2 separate regions of the Homo sapiens genome follow, and region 1 is linked to region 2. The links are contacts of gene promoters, found by promoter capture Hi-C in blood cells and fetal thymus (Javierre and others, 2016). All regions are on one chromosome and are shown on one strand. Each heading gives the region's core, a stretch centred on a gene start or on the middle of the fragment in contact. The rest is flanking DNA. Distances are from core to core; before and after follow the strand shown. Region 1 holds the start of LOC107984821 (a long non-coding RNA gene). Region 2 holds the start of TRADD (TNFRSF1A associated via death domain).

Region 1 (3,121 bases), core at 308-2,807, 260 kb after region 2:
ATTGTTGAGGGACCTACATCCCCGCACTTACACACACTCCCTAGAGGTCCCAAGAGGCCCAGGCTTTTGGGAGGGAGTTTGGAGAGGGGCCCCAGCTCCAGCCCCAAAGCAAGAGTGCAAGACACCCCTTCCAGCCCCAGCTCCCTTCCAGTGCCCAGGTGCTCTTAGGGTCTGTGATGTCCAGGGTCTCACAGGGTTCTGGGCTGGAGCTGGAGGGGGTTGAGGGGTGGGCCCCAGCAGAGGCCTCATGCTCCCCTTCTCCCAGGCCCCTTCCAGAGGCACTGGGCCAGATCAAAGGGACCCAGCACGGAGGATCAGGAGGCAGCTTGGAAAGAATGTAAACATGAGGATATTTTTAAACTTTTTCCAGCCCCAGCGATTAGGGCTCTTGAAGCCGGAGGCCCAGAGGTCAGTCTGGCCCTCACCCACAAAGAAAGCAACAGTCTCGGGCCCTCAGAGACCCCACCCCACCCACATCTACCTACACCCACCCAGGACTCTAGCTGGGGCCTCGGGGCAGAAGTTCTTCCTAGGGTGTCACCTCCAGACACACTGCTGCGGCGGGAGGATGCGTTTCTAATGTGAGGGCCTCAGCGGCATGGGACCCTGACTTAAGGGGTGGTGGGGGCCTACCAGACAGGGCTGATGTTGGAAGACTGAGCTTGGGAGGCTTCTTAGTGGCCCAGTCACTCTACCAGGCGTGTGTGCACACGTGTGTCTGTGGGTGTATAAGTATATGCTGCAGTCTGGTCTGTGTGATGCACGCATCGGAATGTGTGAGTGTGCGAGGAGCTTGCCTCGGCCCACCCTTCCTCGTTCTTCCCTAGCATCCCTGACCTCCTCCCTGGGACCCCTTTGGTAGGTGGGTGACATGGGGGGGGTACAAAAGAGGAAGAGTCGCCTGAGAACAGGGAGGACGCGAGGAGAGAAAGGCGCCAGAGCCGGGGGCGAGGAGGCTGGGGGTACCAGGTCCGGGGCCATGCAATGAGTCAGGCTGTGAGAGCTGCAGGAGTCACTGATGTGGGGACTGGGACTCGGCTCCCTCCATCACCCCCATGTGTCACAGTTGGAGATGAGGCTCCCTGGATCTCCCGATTCCGGTGTCACAACTACGCTCACCATGGGTTCCATGACAACAGCCTCTTACCTTGTAGTCACGCAGCTACCCTCACACCCTCACAGGAGTGTCACAGGACTCATGCAGGGCCCCCCCAACACCACCCAGTGGTCGTATCCCAGTGACCCCTATCTGTGAGACATGAGGACCCTCACTGTCTTCACATCCCCACTGACCAGAAAGCCAGAATTCACAGGGGCACTCAGAAGCCAGACTAGACTGTGGTCACCAGGACAACGGGGTACCCAGCCCCTGGAGAGGCCTCGGCTGGCTATCTCATTCTCCAGGGGCTGCTGTGCCACCTTGCCCTGCTTGTGGGCCCTGAGAGGGACAATGTCCAGCTCCATGTCATACAGCTCCCCAGTGAAGGGCAGGGCTCAGGCCCCAGCTCAGGATCAATGTGGCGATGGCATCCCCTCCAGATTCCCCCTGCTGAGGCAGCAGCCACAAGGGATGAGGCTTGGAGTTTTACCCTAAGATGTGGTAGGATTTTGGGCCCAGGATGATGGGGGAGCTAGGTGGGGCTGGAACTGATGGAAAGGGGAACCTGGAGACTCATCCTCAGTCTGAGGCTGAGGCTGGACACCTAAAGACATGGTTTGTGTCCCTGTGGGTGCCCACTCACTGGGGCTGTTGCTATTCTTATCCACCTCCCAGTGGCGGTGGCAGTGGTAGTGGCAGTAGGGTCAGAGATAGCTGCTACGTGGGAGAGAGTCATGAGCACCAGCCCTTTATCTGACACATTCCCTGGAAACTTGGCAGGGCCTGCCAGCCTCTGGGGGCCTGGGCGGGGCAGGGCGTGAGGTGGTCACAGGGATAGGATGAGGGGGCTGGGCTGGGCTCAGTGCCGATGAGGACCCGCTCCAGCTGCCTCTCCCACAGCCAGGCAAGGTCCCCTCAGAATTGGCCTGGGGGGTTCTAGTGAGATTTCTTCCCATGCGGAGACTAAGACCACAGGTCACCCTCAGCTCCTACTCACCCTCAGTCCAACCCAGAACACCCCACCGTTGGCCCCATCTCTGAGCTTTGGGCACTCCAGAGAACAATGTATTGGCTTCCTCAGTGATGTGGCTTCTTCCACGGGAGAGCACTGAACTGTGAGCCACAGTGGCCCCATCTGGTGGCTGTCCTGCCTACTTCCCAGCCTCGTGATCTTGGGCAAGTCAATTCCCATCTCTGAGCCTCAATTTCCTCATCCCTCTCCTGGGCTGTGGTGGAGATGACAGGGTCCAGTGGTCAGGAAGCAGGCTGACGGCTGCAAAATGTGAGTGTGTGTGCACGTGAGCACTTGGGTGGGGGGGCCAGAGTGGGGAGAGGGAGGCATATGGGTCTCCCACTTTGGGAGACTCCCGCCCTATGGATTTTCCACTGGCATGTCGGCACCCTCTCCCCTAAAATAGGCTCTACGAGCCGTGTGCGACAGAGCCCAGACTGAGGGGCCTTTTTTTAGCTGGCCTTTGATTGTCAGCTCTCGAGCAGCTGCTATTTTGAGCCCCAACGCCTAGAGGAGTAGGGCCAAGTGGGGGCTGAGGTTAGCTCAGTGGGCCTGGCTGGCTCCCCGAAGGCATCCCCAAGGGGGCTGGCCATCCCATCTCACACCCTGCATTGCTGGCAAGGAGAGCACGACATCTCCTATAGATGGGGCCTAAGGGCTCCTCTGTCTACCTCTGCGGAAGCTGCAGACCTGGCAGAAAACAACCACATTTACAGAGCACACCCCACAGGCCACTGCCCACCCACCCCCACCCAGAGAAGAGCATGCTGTGGGGATTAACTGAGATAATACAAGCAAAGCCCTTACTTAGCACAGAGGCTGGCACATAATTGGCTCTCAAAAAATGGAACAGCTTCTGTTATTATTGTCATTACAGCTGCAGTCATTCTTGGTTTTGTTGTTATAGTTATGTTTTTACCAGATTTCTTTCCAGTCTTTTTTCTATGCATTTATTTTATGTTACTGGGTTCGGGACATGACCCTTCCCACCCCATCCCCATACATGTGTA
Region 2 (3,369 bases), core at 218-2,717:
AGTCTCCCGGGCTCAAGCAATCCTCCCACCTCAGCCTCCCGAGTAGCTGGGACTACAGGGGCACGCCACCACGCCTGGCTAATTTTTGTAATTTTGTTGCAGAGACGAGGTCTCGCTTTGTTGCCCAGACTGACCTCGAACTCCTAGGCTCAAGCGATCGGCCCGCCTGGGCCTCCCAAAGTGCTGGGATTACGGGCATGAGCCACCGCGCCCGGCCTGAGAAACCCCATCTTAACCCCGCCGGTTAGTAGAAAGTGACTACAGGGTTAATAAGGCGGGAGCGTTAATGTAGGCTTTTCTTTGTCAGGGACCATGAGCCAATCAGGAAGCGAGGCGTGGGCGGGGCAAAGCTGGATCCACCCCTGGAGGGGAGGCTCCTTCCCCGCCTCCGCCTCGCCGGGGAGATGTCCCGGGTGCTTCCTAAGACAGCCCCACTGGATGAAAAAAAACTTGGGTCTCTGGGACCTGACGGTTCTGGGGCCTGAGGGGCTCAAGATTTAAGTTCCGACCCCTGAGCAGCCCTGGCTCCCGCTGAGCAATTTGGGTTCGGCTGGAACTCCGCAGACCCACCCTGGAGCGCAGCCTTTAGAGGGGGATGGGTTACTGGAAAGTGTGCGTCCTCTTTGAAGTTGCCAATCCTGTTTGTTTTTGTTTTGTTTTGTTTTGAGACGGAATCTAGCTGTGTCGCCCAGGCTGGAGTGCAGTGGCGAGATCTCGGCTCACTGCAAACTCCGCCTCGCGGGTTCAAGCGATTCTTCTGCCTCAGCCTCCCGAGTAGCTGGGACTCCAGGCGCGCGCCACCTCGCCGGGCTAATTTTTGTATTTTTAGTAGAGACGGGGTTTCACCATATTGGCCAGGCTGGTCTCAAACTCCTGACCTCAGGTGATCCACCTGCCTCGGCCTTCCAAAGTGCTGGGATTACAGGCGTGAGCCACCGCGCCCGGCCGCCAATCTTGTTTTAAGGTTCTTAAAGGTTTGTGTACACAAGGCTTCACACTACTCGCCAGTTAATGTTCCCATATCTTCCGGGCTAACAGTTTCTCCCGGAATTTGTGCCACGTGTTTCCTGGGGCTTCAGATACGTTCGGCCGGGCTTGTACCTGGGACCCATGGGCACCCCGTTTTGAGTGCCCACTGGTAGCAGCGATCTTGAAGCCGGATCCCCAGGGGTACCAGAAAATTCTGGTCTCCAGGGGGCGCCCCCTTGATTTACCGAAGTCTGGCAGCTGTAGCTCTTACGAGCCCCCCGCCTCGTAAGAATCGCAAACCCCCAAAGTCGGGTCTTCCTGCCGTCTAACCTTGGGCGCTGGTGTCTTACCTGCTCGGCGGACCAGATGGGCTTTGCCCGGGGCAGGGGACTGGCAGCAGAGGACAGCGGACGGGAAGCAGCCACCGGGAGCCCGCGGGGCGGGACGCGCGGGCGGACGGGGCGGCTCGGGCTAGGGCACCGCCCCAGCGCCTCCGCGCACACCCGGAAGCGGCGGAGTAGAGCGGAGCCTGGCGGGCGTGGGAACCCAGGCCCCGCCGAGGCGGCCAGGTTAGTGCAGCAGGTGGGTGGGTGGGCTCCCCGGTGCGGGCGGGAGAGGAGGTGGATCTTGGCTCCGAAGCGTGGGCGCGGCGCAGATGTCACCGGCGGCTGCTCCAGCCAGCTGGTGGCGGCGGTCTACTGAGCTGTTCGAACACCGTGGGAGGCGGGGGACGGTACGGAATTTGGCCCCCGCAGGCTCCTCGTCCCTGCCAGCACTTTCGAGGTGCAGTAGGGCCCTGCAGGAGAGAGGGTGGGGGAGAAGGGGCTGGTTCTGAATACTTTCCTTGAGCGGAGACCCCCTTGCCCACCCCAGCCGATCGCACGTGCGAAACCCCAGCTTGAGGGTGGGCTAGTGGGAGCCTGGGAAGCTCCCCTCAAGCGCTCGGGAGCTGCGTAGCTGAGTAGGGGGTGTGCCCGGCGGGTCGCAAGGAGTCACAGGCTTTCAGTTCTGGGCCACGCCCACAGGCTGTCTCTGTCCACCCAGCCAGAGGTGGGGCTGCCCCCGGGACTGTTAGGTGTTCAGGGGGCACCGTGCGTGGCTCGTCCCTGGAAACAGGCGCAGAAGTTGTTAGGTCGGTACCTAAGCGCCCCACAGTCTCCGGCCACCAAACTTTCTCAGGACCCAGCCTGGAAGCCTCAGCCCCGCCCAAAAAGGGACGACTCCTGGTGGGTGGGGCGCGGGGCTTCCCAAGGAGGGGCTTCCGTGAAAGAACACGTAAGAAGAGCTGCCAGTCGGCGGATGCGAAACTAGGGCCCTGGCCTCTTTACCCTGTTAACTCGACCTCCAGCCTGGTTCACCTTCCCCATCTTCTAGTACTAGTGAGTGTGAGAAAGCATCCCCAGTCTCCAGGTTCCCAGTACTCCCCACCTCCCCCTCGACCCCCACAGACCTGATGGGCAGACAATGGTCCTGTTCGGTCCCCACTTCCACCCCTTGGGGTGGGACCATAACCAAGTCAAGCACTCTCAAGTCAAGGGGCCAGAAAGACATGAAAGAGGGAATGTTTCCAGGGGAAGTTCCCACTCTCTCCTACTCCCCAGGCCACTTTCGAAGGACTCCCCCCTTATCTCACCTCCGTGGCTGGCTCCCTATTATGGACCCACTTGTCACCTGCAGAGTTTCCTGTTTTTTCTTGTTTTGCTTTTAAAGAAAACAAATTTATTTTGCTCTTTTAATACAAAGAAAATATGTCTACTTCACATAAAGCAGAAAATATTGCTAAATACAAAGAAAATAAAAATCACCCACAATCCTTCCCCACCCCCACCTACCTTCCTTCATCCTGCCCAGAGATAAACAAAATGCAAACTTCCTGTTACTATCCAGACTGTGGTTTGGCGTAAGTACACAAGTATTAATGTTTTCTATGAAAAGATTAGAAGGCTGGGTGTGGTGCCTCACACCTGTAACCCAGCACTTTGGGAAGCTGAGGTGGGCAGATCGCTTGAGCCCAGGAGTTTGAGACCAGCCTGGGCAACATGGTGAAACTCCATCTCTACTAAAAATACAAAAACTAGCCAGGCATGGCGGCGTGTGCCTAAAGTCCCAGCTACTTGAAAGGTTGAGGTGAGAGGGTTGCTTGAGCTGGGAAGGTCAAGGCTGCAGTGAGCTGCGATAGTGCCACTGCACTCCAGCCTGGGTGACAGAGCAAGACCCTGTCTCAAAAACAAGACAATTGAAAAAACAAAGGTCGAGAGTAGTGCCTTACTCCTGTAATCGCAGCACTTTGGGAGGCCAGGGCAGGAGGACAGCTTCCTGTTCCTCATGTAAACAGATGGCAGCTGGGCCACCCCATCTGTCCTGCCCCATAGCTAACACTCAACACTCCTCTTAGCCCAC

The links. Contacts are between HindIII fragments. The CHiCAGO score rates a contact against its expected background, and 5 or more counts as called.
Region 1: a fragment that was not itself captured here is called in contact with the fragment with the promoter of TRADD in region 2 in 3 of 17 cell types (M1 macrophages, erythroblasts and M0 macrophages); the score reaches 5.8 in M1 macrophages.

Annotation. Positions count from the first base shown.
Region 1 is chr16:66,902,551-66,905,671 of GRCh38, reverse strand. LOC107984821 (a long non-coding RNA gene) reads left to right here and starts at 412. Exons shown (of 3, transcript XR_001752244.2): 1 at 412-581. RefSeq lists an enhancer at 15-2,499. The HindIII fragment of the contact is 9,071 bases long and covers 1-3,121 here.
Region 2 is chr16:67,158,007-67,161,375 of GRCh38, reverse strand. TRADD (TNFRSF1A associated via death domain) reads left to right here and starts at 1,467. Exons shown (of 5, transcript NM_003789.4): 1 at 1,467-1,538. FBXL8 (F-box and leucine rich repeat protein 8) reads right to left here and starts at 1,419. Exons shown (of 3, transcript NM_018378.3): 1 at 1,320-1,419. RefSeq lists silencers at 189-278, 1,299-1,438 and an enhancer at 2,039-2,298. The HindIII fragment of the contact is 14,896 bases long and covers 1-3,369 here.